Regions from separate parts of the Homo sapiens genome. Here regions 2, 3 and 4 are each linked to region 1. The links are contacts of gene promoters, found by promoter capture Hi-C in human tissues and cell types (Jung and others, 2019). All regions are on one chromosome and are shown on one strand. The core of a region is centred on a gene start or on the middle of the fragment in contact, and the rest is flanking DNA. Distances in the headings are between cores, read along the strand shown. Region 1 holds the start of CT62 (cancer/testis associated 62). Region 2 overlaps THSD4 (thrombospondin type 1 domain containing 4). Region 3 holds the start of LOC107984716 (a long non-coding RNA gene). Region 4 holds the start of LARP6 (La ribonucleoprotein 6, translational regulator).

The links. Contacts are between HindIII fragments. The study calls those that stand out against the background at their distance.
Region 2: a fragment that was not itself captured here is called in contact with the fragment with the promoter of CT62 in region 1 in 3 of the 25 tissues and cell types used here (IMR-90 fibroblasts, adrenal gland and heart left ventricle).
Region 3: a contact is called between a fragment that was not itself captured here and the fragment with the promoter of CT62 in region 1, in 4 of the 25 tissues and cell types used here (H1 embryonic stem cells, aorta, lymphoblastoid cells and 1 more).
Region 4: the fragment with the promoter of LARP6 here is called in contact with the fragment with the promoter of CT62 in region 1 in 2 of the 25 tissues and cell types used here (heart right ventricle and liver).

What each region holds. Positions count from the first base shown.
Region 1 is chr15:71,114,038-71,117,036 of GRCh38, reverse strand. CT62 (cancer/testis associated 62) reads left to right here and starts at 1,533. Exons shown (of 4, transcript NR_168260.1): 1 at 1,533-2,113. It overlaps THSD4 (thrombospondin type 1 domain containing 4), which reads right to left and starts at 1,566. Exons shown (of 18, transcript NM_024817.3): 1 at 1,339-1,566. RefSeq lists silencers at 1,173-1,262, 1,413-1,552, 1,583-1,642, 1,489-1,666, 1,703-1,752. The HindIII fragment of the contact is 8,632 bases long and covers 1-2,999 here.
Region 2 is chr15:71,577,153-71,580,151 of GRCh38, reverse strand. All of the region lies in intron 7 of THSD4 (thrombospondin type 1 domain containing 4), which reads right to left. Among named protein-coding and RNA genes, the nearest start is that of THSD4-AS2, 110 kb to the left of the region's middle. The HindIII fragment of the contact is 5,390 bases long and covers 1-2,999 here.
Region 3 is chr15:71,524,457-71,527,455 of GRCh38, reverse strand. All of the region lies in intron 7 of THSD4 (thrombospondin type 1 domain containing 4), which reads right to left. It overlaps LOC107984716 (a long non-coding RNA gene), which reads left to right and starts at 2,858. Exons shown (of 3, transcript XR_001751787.2): 1 at 2,858-2,999. The HindIII fragment of the contact is 4,601 bases long and covers 1-2,999 here.
Region 4 is chr15:70,852,621-70,855,619 of GRCh38, reverse strand. LARP6 (La ribonucleoprotein 6, translational regulator) reads left to right here and starts at 1,463. Exons shown (of 3, transcript NM_018357.4): 1 at 1,463-1,731. The coding sequence starts at 1,532. It also overlaps a transcript of LRRC49 not described here. RefSeq lists an enhancer at 1,573-2,074. The HindIII fragment of the contact is 12,354 bases long and covers 1-2,999 here.

The sequences.
Region 1 (2,999 bases), core at 284-2,783:
TTATAGGAAAGTCCCAGGACGCCCATCTGCTTGCTTCCTCACATTAATTTCAGGGCTAGGATTTTGTTTTCTAAAGGAATTCAACTATGATGCCAACAAAAATCTATAGGAATTGAAGAGTTCCGTATTTTAAGTCACATTTTTAAAATGTTTGCTTCTTTGTATATTGAGACCCAGTAAGACCCTAGTAAGCCCAGTTACTCCATCACCTCCAACAATATTAATCAAGTAGAAGACACGCGGATTTTAAAAGCTGTGTGATCCTTGAAAAATCTTCAGACTGTCAGGGGTCCTGGGTGCCTCCAACTGTGAAAGGAGGGTTGGACAAGGCGATTCCTTAGATCTCTCTCGGGTATCTATTTCTCTAATTCCAAATTCCAACAGGCATCCAATGATTGCTACCCACGTCCAAGCTTTAGACTCATAGCCCGAAAAGGGCGAAGCGCAGCGTGGTAGAGATCGCAAAGGAGACAGGAAGAGAAGCAAGCATGCACTTTTAGTAAGACGGCAAAGGAGGCTGGGAGGTACGGTGCTGGGTGCGGACTGCTTAAAAAACTTACTAGACCACAAATTCCAGATACTTAGGTGGGCCCGAGAACGCCCTAAAATCCCCTTCCCAAGTGAGGGCTGATGTTATTTCAAATAAAAAGAAAACTTAACTTCCAGATCTGTAGAGCTCCAAGGTGAGCTCGCTGTGCAAAAGCTACTTCTGTAAGTGCGCCAAGGGGCCGCAGGTACTTAGGCTGCACTTGAGGAAGTGTCCAGAGTTGGCGGAAACAACCCATCCACTCGGGCTCCAGGCGCTCGCTGGGTTGCAGCAACTAAACTGAGACAGACAGACACACAGATCCGAGGCCCCAGGCCAGGACTCAAGGAGCGCTGACCGAGACTTGCCCGGCTCTCGGGCCCCAGGCGGGAGGGAGGCGAGGCTGAGGTGGGGGGCGCACGGGCTGGGTGTGCACTCGCCGGTCCCCTCCGACCCGACCCGGGGAGCACGGGGCCCCGACCCGGGGACGACTGAGGTGGATTGTCCCTAGAGTTTAAGACTGTCCCTAGAGTCGAGGGTGGAGGGATGAGCGCCGGCGCCAGCACAGAGCAAGACTCCCAGCAAGGAAGAGAACCAGAGAAGGAGGCGCAGCCGTCCGCACGGACCAGGCGCGCGCTGGCTCCCCGAGCCCGGAGCGGCGCAGCCCGCGGCGCCCCGGACACACCCACTGGGTAGCCCGCGCCAGCCCGCCCCGCCGGCCAGAGAGCGGGAGCCGGAGCCTGGGCAGCGGAAGCCGGGTCGGGGCCGCGCGGGCGGCGCGCAGGGGACGCGGGGCGCGCGGCTCTGCTCACCTGGCGGTCCGCGTCCCGGAGCGACCGGCGGCCGCCTCGCCTCGCCTCGCCCCCGCGTGGTTCCCGGCGCCGGGCAGCCCCGAGCGCCGCCGCATGGACGGCCGCCACCGCCGCCCAGCCGCCCCGCGCCCGCCCTGCACGGGCTCCCGCTGTGCCCCGATTCCGCGTCGGGCTGCGCGGGCGGCCAGCGGTTCAGGCGCGCGCGGAGAGCTCTGGCTCAGAGTTTGCGATCCGAGAGCGGGATCCGCGCTCCCTCGGTCCTTCCTCCCTCCCCTCTTGCGGCCTCCCGCTGTCATCTGGAGCCGCTCCTGCCGCCCCCTGGCGGCGACCGCGGGAAGGGCCGGCCCCCATCCGCACCCCTGACCCCGGAGGTCAACAACGGGATGGTCCCTGGGTCCCAGGGGAAGAGACATCACCCAGTAGGAGGGAGTACGGTCTAGACAGAGGCCACGAGGGCGGGAGGGGGCGAGAGTGGAGAGTGGCCCAGCTGGCCAGGGTCGTCTAAGTGAGAGGAAAAGGGAGAGGGCGGTTGAGACCAGGCCCTGAATTCCGCGTTCATCTTATCCTGAGGTCTGTGGGGACCTGTTGAAGGACTGGGGCAGGGGACGGACGCGGGCATCCTTCCATTTGGAACAGCCATTCCGGCAGCATCAGGATGGGGCGGAGGCAAAGCGGGGAGTGGGCGAGGCAAGTGGTGCTGTAAACCTGTGCGAGAAGGGGGCGGTGACTCTAAGGGCAGGAAGGAGCCCTGGTCACACACACACTCCCACGCAAGGTAGGACGCGCTGGGCTCCTTCTGAGGCCAAGGGGAAAGGACAAGAGCCCTCCAAATTCCAACGGGGGTTAGACAGCATGGGGAGGAGACACACACACCCTGACGGCCAGAGCCGTTCGGGATTCTTTCTTGTCTTATTCAGAGTAATATTTTGTTGGGGAAAAAAAAGCCTGCTGCAAAAAAATAATAATTCTTCTCATTAGTAATGATAAAAATCAAACTTTGATCCCTTCATTTTACGAATTGGGAAATTATTGCCCCCAAAAGGGCATGACCAAAGTGACGCGTTTAGTTAATGGAGGGAAAATTGCTAGGGCCCCGTTTCTTGAGTCCTAATTCAGAGCCAAATTCTTTACATTCGAGCCAAGGTGTTCAGAGCTGGGAAGGCAGGAAATAGAGTGACTGTGAGGAACTGTCTCTTCTTTCCCCAGAGCAGGGAGGGGGTGACAAATATTTGAAGAGGCTGTCCAGATACAGGCGTTTCCCTAAATTTCAGTCAGCCTGTTTGTTTATCGCTGCCTCTAAAGCTTGCCTGCAGGGGTTGTTTTGAAAGTGCAGGTATACCGAGAGGACAATGAAGGAGGTGGCAGAATGCAAGCTCCCTGCCCCAGAGCCAGGCAGCACCAGGGCTGGGTGCAGAGCGCTTCGTGGGAGCAGAAGGGAGCTCCCAGGGAAGATTGTCCTCCAGAAAAAAAAAAAAATTAACAAAAGGGAAAGAGGCTACTCAAGAGATTAGGCCAAAGAAAGAAACACCATTTTGAGCACCGACTACTGGCCCGGAGCCTGGCAGAGCCAGTTCTGATTGATTCAAGAGCTGGTTCCAATGGGATGAAATAATTCCACACTTGATCAAACAGATTTTGATGGGAGGCACCTGGTGTAAATG
Region 2 (2,999 bases), core at 146-2,645, 460 kb before region 1:
CCTTGGAACTATCCTAGCATGACATCTATACTTCTTACTGCCTGCTGTGTACAAATTACATGTATTCTTTTTTGAAAACTCTCTCTTGGGAAAGCACAAATTTCTTAAGAGCAGGATATTATTATGTGATTTTTTAATATCTCCAATTAGTCACAGTGTAATTTGCATCCTGTGGTTGCTTAATAAATGCTAGGTGAATGACAAATTCGTCATTCGATGCTGAGCATCACCCTCCTCAAAAAAAAAACCCCACCGTTTATGTGTTTTAAGCCACTAAATTTGTGGTAATTTGTTATATAGTGATAGAAAACTAATATACATAGAGTTGGGCAGGTTTGGTCACCAGCTAGGTTTTTAATTGCTCTACTTATAAACAGGTGTCTCTCATTGCTATTGTTTTACCTTCCAAACCATGGTGTCTCCAATATTTTGAAAGCTATAAATGGGAAATAAAACCCAAGGGTTGAGGGCAGAGGAGAGATACATGACCCAATTTGAGGGGATCTACCATGTGGAGGCATTTACTACAGAGTGGAGTAGAATCACCCTTCAAGAGTACAGTAGCAATCTTTTCTCAGTCCCAGGGAAGTGACTTTAATCAAATGACAGATCTTCTGACCTGTGTTAACTAAGGCTGAGAAATGGAATTTAGATGGTAGAATTATTATTTTTCACACCTATGCTCTCCCTCTTCTGGGGACTTGTTTACTCAAAGGGATTTCCAGTTCCCTTTCTCATCGGAACTCCATAGGCTTCTGCTACGCAGATGATCATGAGAACAGGCGTGAGGAGCCCCTTCTCAGGAGGACATTCTGGCTCTCGGTAATGCTCACACACAGCTGGCCTCAAGCAAGTTAACAATAGCTACTGTACAACCATGAAGAGCCAGCTGTTATGGAGAATACAAAAGAAGTAAAGTAATAACACTGCCTTACCTAAATCCAATTTATCCCCAAATTTATAAAGGCAACTTATCTTAAACTGAAAACATAATTACTGCTAGTTTGATTAAAAAGTTAATGCACTCACGCCTGTAATCCCAGCACTTTGGGAGGCTGAGGTGGGTGGATCACGAGGTCAGGAGATCGAGACTATCCTGGCTAACACGTAGAAACCCCATCTCTACTAAAAATACAAAAAATTAGCCGGGTGTGATAGCTGGTGCCTGTAGTCCCAGCTACTCGGGAGGCTGAGGCAGGAGAATCACTTGAACCCGGGAGGCAGAGCTTGCAGTGAGCCGAGATTGTGCCACTACACTCCAGCCTGGGCGACACAGCAAGACTCCGTCTCAAAAAAAAAAAAAAAAAGTTAATGCAGTCCAGAGTCCCCCAAGTCAAATTAATGTATGCAAAGATAACACCAAATATCATTAAAACAGTGTTCATTATTTACTATCATATATTATCACAATATAACCTAAACAAGTATTTTCTATTTATTATTTAGTCTATCGAATGGCTGTTTACCTGCTCGTCGTAGGCCACTTAAGAAGAGTACACTTAAGAGTATACTATAGGCTGGGCGTGGTGGCTTACGCCTATAATCCTAGCACTTTGGGAGGCTGAGGCAGGTGGATTGCCTGAGCTCAGGAGTTTGAGACCAGCCTGGGCAACATGGCGAAATCCTGTCACCACCAAAAAAGAAAGTCACAAAGTCACAAAGCATGTTTATGGATTACATTATACAAAGTTTATATAATTTAACCATTAAAAAAATAAAGTCAAAAGAAATCAATGGCAGAATCCAAATGACATGACACTTATCAAACAGGTTGACATCATAATGAGCATCATCCTTGCTATAAATTAGCAAACCTCGAGTCACCTGTTAAGAAGGGCACTCAGCCAGATGTTGGTGCTAGCTACCCCACTGCCAAGATAACCACCTGGAGTCTACACTGCCGCTTACAAGATGCACCAGTGCAGAGTTTATATATATATTCAATTTATCAATTGTGTGTATATATATTCATTATATATATAATGAATATATATACTATATAGATAGATATAATGTATATATATACTATATAGATCGATAATGTACACAGACACAAGGGTATAAAATCCAGTGAGAAGGGCTCACACATGCCAGGTAGGGGAAGGGAGCAGTGGCTTTAACTGCCAGGGTTGAGGCCACAGTGGAGGCACACAGGAAATGGTAGAGAGTAGCAGCCTCCCTCCATCGGATCATCTGAGGACAGGAGTTTGAGCCCAGCCTGGCCAACATGGTGAAATCCCACCTCTACTAAAACCGCACACGAAAAATTAGCCAGGCATGGTGGGCGCCAGTAATCCCAGCTACTCGGGAGGCTGAGGCAGAAGAATAACGTGAACTCAGGAGGTGGAGGTTGCAGTGAGCCGAGATCATGCCACTGCACTCCAGCCTGGGCAACAGGGCAAGACTCCGTCTCAAAAATAAAATAAAATAAAATAAAATAAATAAATAAAGGTTGCACCAGTCCACAATGGCTTTCATAAATGCCAAGACAGACCCCTTAGAGCTGAATTAGGGCATCAAGTGAAAGTTTTAGTAACGCCAAATGGTTGTAAACCAAAGAGACATAATTTCATAGTATGTACTTCACAGTTTCGAAAGCATTTCTCCATCTCCAAAGCTTCCCCATATACCAAATTTATTTCCAGCCTCTGTGAATCTGAAAACTGGCTTTCACCCCCTCACAGTCTCCTATCCTCCTCGTATTTTACAACTGTCAAGCCCCAGAAAGTTAGAGACCTTAGCCATCATGTTTAACATGTGAGAAGCCAAGGATTAGAGTGGCAAACAGCCTGTCTTCTGGCCATCTCTTTGCATCTCCTCTAGGAAAGCTTTTCTAACTCCCCCAGAACACACAGATCAGTGGATTAGTCAATCAGCAAGTATTCATTGAGCATGTCTGATGTCCTGGCACTGATCGAGAGAAACTGCAAGAGATTTAAAACAACATACAAAACAAAATTTCCTTCCACAAAAGGAATTACAGTCTAGTTCAGCACACA
Region 3 (2,999 bases), core at 374-2,873, 410 kb before region 1:
TGGGAAGTTATAAAAACTTCCTTCTGTTGTCACATTTTTCACTTTTGTTGCCCTCCATTTGAGAATTATTTATTGCCCTGACCACAAGCCTTTTTGTATTCATCAGAGAAGAGTTTGTGTGTTTCAATAAATGGCTGTCTTAGTCAGTTTTCTGTTACATCAAAATACTTGAGAACGAGTAATCTATAAATAATAGAAATTTATTTCTCCCAGTTCTGGAGGCTGGAAGTTCAAGATCAAGGCTCCAGCAGCTTTGGTGTCTGGTGAGGGCCCCGTCTCTACTTTCAAGGTGGCGCCTTGTTGCTGTGTCCTTACATGGTGAAAGGCAGAAGGGCAAAAAAGGCTGAACCCCGGGTGAAGGCTATTTTATAAGGCATTAATCCCATTTATGAGGGAGGAGTCTTCATGACCTAATCACCTCCTAAAGGACCCACGTCTTAATACGACTGCAATGGTGATTAAGTTTCAACATGAATTTTGGGGAAGATTCAGACCAAGGCAATGGTCATTTTTCATACATACTAACTTGACATGACACTGTGCCTCTTAGCTATGGCACCATAAATTGTGCCTCATTCTGTGCCACACTCCATAACTTGCTCAGTTCAGCATACTGTCCAACAGACACTATAAGAGAATCTATTCTAGGTTGAATCAAATACAAATTTTAGATACACATCAAAATTTGGCAGAATACCTGTGTGCCATTGCTACACAATAAGCTACCACACTAGCCCTAGGGATTCACATCACCTAATTGGAAAAGTGTCAAATCAAAGTCTCGACATTTGCACAAGTGAGAGATTAAGCTTCATTTCACATATGCAGTTCATCCCACCCATAAACATGCCAAGAGAGAGTCAACATCGTGTTTCTAATGCAGCGACTATTCCTGGAATATTCCAGTGCAACTATTCCTGAAATAGTTTCTTTCAGGAATAAAAAACCAAACACAACTTAAAAAAAGAATCACTAAACGAAACCTAAAGACAGCACAATAAAACTGCCAAAACGACTGCATTTCTGTCTACTTGGTAGACCTCTAAGCGACTCTCTCCTAACAAGAAAGAAGTAACTGGAAAATATTCTGCCTGTGCCAGTGATGTGTGATTTAAGAGAGGAAATATTTAGAGGCTTAAGAGACCTTTGCAGGGAGTCTGGAAGCCGGCTGCAAGTTTGAAGAAATTTGCATTCTCTGGAATCCAGGCTCATTTCTCTCTGGGAACCACCAGGAAGTAAAGTCCATAAACTGAGATTTTAGACGGTCCTTGAAACCGGCAATCAATCAGAACAAAATGAAACTCGGTTCAAGTAGGCAGTAATTTATTGTGGCATTGTCCCCAGCCTACAGGGGGAAAATTCAGCCATTTACAATGAAATAGTGATGGGTCAGTGAAAACACTCTAAATTTGATAATATATCCAGGAGCAGATGTAACCGAATAGGGTCGGTTCTTATTTCCTTGGTTCTACTAATTCACTTACTGTTTACTGAGTGTCTGCGTGTGTCGGGTGTTAGAAGCTCCTGGATGAATGAGACCCATTCCCTGTCCTTGAGGGGTTCAGGTTCTACAGGGAATGGGAAAGGTGGTGAGTCTGTAGCTGGGGATGCTAAGGCAAAGCTCTCACCAGCTCTCACCAAGGACCATGATTTTCTATTGCACTTGTGAGACCATTGAGATGAGATGAGATGCAAAGAATGTATCTCCAAAAATCCCAACAGATTCTGACTTTTCAGCATGATTTAGGACACAGACTTCTTCATCTGCGTCCTGTTTCCTCACAGTTGGAATGTTCTGTCCATGGACCATAACAAAAGTCAGTTATTTCTAACTCATTACTTGGGAAAACATCTCCCTAATACATAAAACATTTGCGCAGATTTCTCTGTACATTGTACATCTGTATAACTGACTCTCAACTCATAGTTTGAATAAACGCATCTGTGGGCACCTTTCAACCACCCCCACTCCCTGGCTCTGTGCCCATGCCTGACCTTGTCCAGTTCTGTATCTTCCTCTGCCTCCTGCATATTTCCACTTGCAAGTCTTACCAATGTTTCAAATCCAACATGTCTATAATTAAATCTGCAGTTCAGTGGTTATGAGTGTCGGTTTTAACATTAGGATGCTTAAAGTTAAATCCTGGTTGTAGCACATATTAGCTGTGTGTTCCTGGGCTAGTAATTTAATCTCTATGTGCCTCATGTTCCTCATCTGTACAATTAGATGATTGATGGTACCTATCCCTTGAGGCTGCCATGAGAATTAAATGAGACATTACATGTAGAACACTTAGCAGGGAGCCTGATGCATAATAAGTGCTCAGTAAATATTAGCTATTTTTATTATTCATTGTGAAATTGATGGCTACATTTCTCTCATTGATACCACCATTTTCCTTCTAGGTGAGAGCTCAAGATTGAAGAGTCCAGGAAGACTGCATCCAAGATGCATAACTGCTGATCTTGGTTGGCCCCTTTTGAGGCATGGACAAGGGAGGGAGGGAGCATGGGCAAGGAAGTTCTTTGAAGTATAAAGCAAGAGGCCGGGCATGGTGGCTCACGCTTGTAATCCCAGCACTTTGGGAGGCCGAGGCAGGCGGATCACAAGGTCAGGAGATCGAGATCATCCTGGCTAATACGGTGAAACCCCGTCTCTACTAAAAAATACAAAAAAAAAAAAAAAAAAAAATTAGCCGGGCGTGGTGGTGGGCACCTGTAGTCCCAGCTACCTGGGAGGCTGAGGTAGGAGAATGGCATGAACCCAGGAGGCGGAGTTTGCAGTGAGCTGAGACTGCACCACTGCACTCCAGCCTGGGTGACAGATAGAGACTCGTCTCAAAAAAAAAAAAAAAAAAAAAAAAAAAAGAGGCATAAACCAAGAAGGGCTCTTAGCTCATCTCCATCTTCCTCCTGTGCTCATGGCAGACATTACAAGTCATTTACAGCACTCTTTCCTGCGCAGCCTCCTGCAGCTTAGCATCCTTCTCAAGGCAGCA
Region 4 (2,999 bases), core at 214-2,713, 260 kb after region 1:
AGCCCTGCCCAGACACCCAGGACCCTATACATGGTGTTCTTTTACAAGGACACTGCCCTCCAGGAGACCTCATTTCCTAAGCCTATCCTAACTTGTCTTTCTATATCAAAACAAATGTATTGGTCCAGGGTTCTGTTGTTTTGGGGTCCCAGTGTGGCAAATTAATATGATAAATTATGTTTAAGGCTCTAAATAAAGTGCTACATGAAAGCAGATTCAGGTCTTATTCATTTCTTTTTCTTCTTTCCTTCTTTCTTTTTTTTTCTTTTTCTTTTTTTTTTTTTTGAGACGGAGTCTCGCTCTGTTGCCCAGGCTGGAGTGCAGTGGCACAATCTCGGCTCACCACAACCTCTGCTTCCCAGGTTCAAGTGATTCTCCTGCCTCAGCCTCCCGAGTAGCTGGGATTACAGGCACGTGCCACCACGTCCAGCTAATTTTTGTATTTTTTTTAGTAAAGACAGGGTTTCACCATGTTGGCCAGGATGGTCTCGATCTCTTGACCTCGTGATCCGCCCGCCTGGGCCTCCCAAAGTGCTGAGATTACAGGCTTGAGCCACTGCGCCCGGCCGGTCTTATTCATTTCTATGCTCCTGTCCCTAGTTTCTGGGTCACATTTGGAGAGGTGAGATGGAACTCAATTTGAAGTTACACGTGAAAAGGTGGCAGTGTTTTAGAACATCCTGACATTTCAATAGCTCCCTTTATTCATTCAACAAACATCTGAGTGCATACTATGTGCAGGGCATACTCTATAGGCCATCGGCTTTCGAACTTTTGTGAACTTCAGCATCACCTAGAGGCCTTGTTAAAACACAAAGTTCTGAATCATAGATTCTGATTCAGGAGGTCTGGATGAGCCCTGAGAATTCAATTTCTAACAAGTTCCCCGGTGCAGCTGATGCTCCTGGTCTGGGAACCACACTTGGAGAAAAACTGATACAGGGCAAGGCAGGAGCCAAGCCCCTGACCTCCTAAGACGCGGTCTAGGGTGGTTATTATGTCAAGGAGACTAACGATGGAAATTTTCTGATCTTGGCAGGCCAGTGGGGGAGACACGCAGGAGGCCTGGAAGCCCCTGGAGCTGTGGTCTCTGGCTGCCACCCCCGGAGTCAAGCACAAACAGAAGTCAGCTGTGCTGCGCCCATCCCTGCGGCGCCGTGAAAGAAGGCGCAGGAGGAGGGAGCCCTGACACCTCCTCTCGGGCTGGGGCCCCACAGCGGCGAAAAGACGGAGGGAGTGATCGGGGGTCGCGGGGATCCTTCCGGGACGGGCCTCCGTCGGAGGAGCTCCGGAAAGCCGCCCTCCACCTCCGAGGCCCCGCCTGCGCGGGCGCTCCACTAGCGGTCGGGGTGGTGGCGGCGGCGGCGGCGGCGGCGGCGGCGCGGGGCGGGGCGCCGCGACCCCTGTCCCTCCCCTGGGCCGAGCGGCAGGCGCGCTCGCACCGCCCCCGCCCCCTCGTCGCAGTCGCTGCCGACCGGCTGGCTGGGCCTTGCGGCGTGAGGACCCCGGCGGCGCCGCAGTCCCGCGAGCCATGGCCCAGTCCGGCGGGGAGGCTCGGCCCGGGCCCAAGACGGCGGTGCAGATCCGCGTCGCCATCCAGGAGGCCGAGGACGTGGACGAGTTGGAGGACGAGGAGGAGGGGGCGGAGACTCGGGGCGCCGGGGACCCGGCCCGGTACCTCAGCCCCGGCTGGGGCAGCGCGAGCGAGGAGGAGCCGAGCCGCGGGCACAGGTAGGCGCGGCGGCTGGCCCGGGAGGTGGGCCCCGAGGGGGCGCCGGGCCGCGCGCGAGTTCGGGGCGCTGACTGCGCGCGACAACTCCTCGGGCAGAGGGGGTTGAGTCAGCCCCGCCGCCGGGGAAGCAGCTCCGGGCCGAGCCCCTGAGTCAGAACCGGCCCGTGGAGGCAGCCGGTGCCCCAGCCCGCAGCTTCGTCGCCCAACCGAGGCTCCCAGGGCTGGCGGCCGGGATCTGAGGGGCCTGGACGTGGGGATGTTCAGGGATCCAGGAGGAGGACTTTCACGGGCCATCCAAGCCACCCCCTCCTCTGGAGGAGGCCTCTTCTCTGTGGGCTCCCTCAAGACACCACCTCCCCATCGCCGCAAAGTCCATCCCTACCCGCCTTCCCCTCCCCTTGCGAGTGGTCCCGCTTACCCTTCACTGCCATCATCGCCCTGCCTTTCCCAGTCCTGCTGGCTGCGCTCAGTCTTTAGGTGGTAGCAGGCCAGGTACAGCGGACACTTGCTGATGGGGGATTCCAGGAGGTGGGATTTCAAGGTAATTTGAGACGGATAGAGGACTTGCTGCTTTACTTCCTCCGCCCTGGGGGATTCCCATTTTCACACAGCCTTTCCCACCAGACCTTTATGTTTGCATCATCTTGCTGCCTTGCGGGGGGCGGGGGGGGGGTGTTCCTGGGTTTTGGGTAGTTTGGAGCTGCTATGGCACTTGTTTAACCTTGTCCCGGGTCCCGAGCTTTGTCCTCAGGCACCTTGGCTCCTGTCCACTAATGCCCAGGCCCTTAAGGACTGGTGTTTTGTTCCTGCTGTTGAAAGGAGATAAAACATAGACATAGACATGAGAGTGGGGAAATGACAGAACTTGCACATTCTGGTGGATGCCAACAGGCACTTATTAGGAGCTCTCTTTCTTCTAGGACCCTGTCCCAGGCGTTTAGCTGTTAAGGTTCTGCAGGATTGTCCTGGCAAGCGTATATCTACTTCACTGGGAGAATACTCAACTCAAGGGTGGAAGAATACTGGGCCCAGAGCCATTCTCTATTACTGGCTCACCCTTCCCCAGGTTAAAGGGTCAGACTTCTGGACCCAGAGATTCGGGGCAGACCAGTAGAGACAGTTGTTAGGGGAGAAAAGTCAGCCCACCAGGGTAGGGCAGGAAAGCTGGACCATAGTGTATGACAAAGTAGATAGATCAGTGCTTTATAATGCAAGGCCTGATTCGTTTAGCTCTGTGCCAAGTACCGAGAGCATAAAAATGATGAAC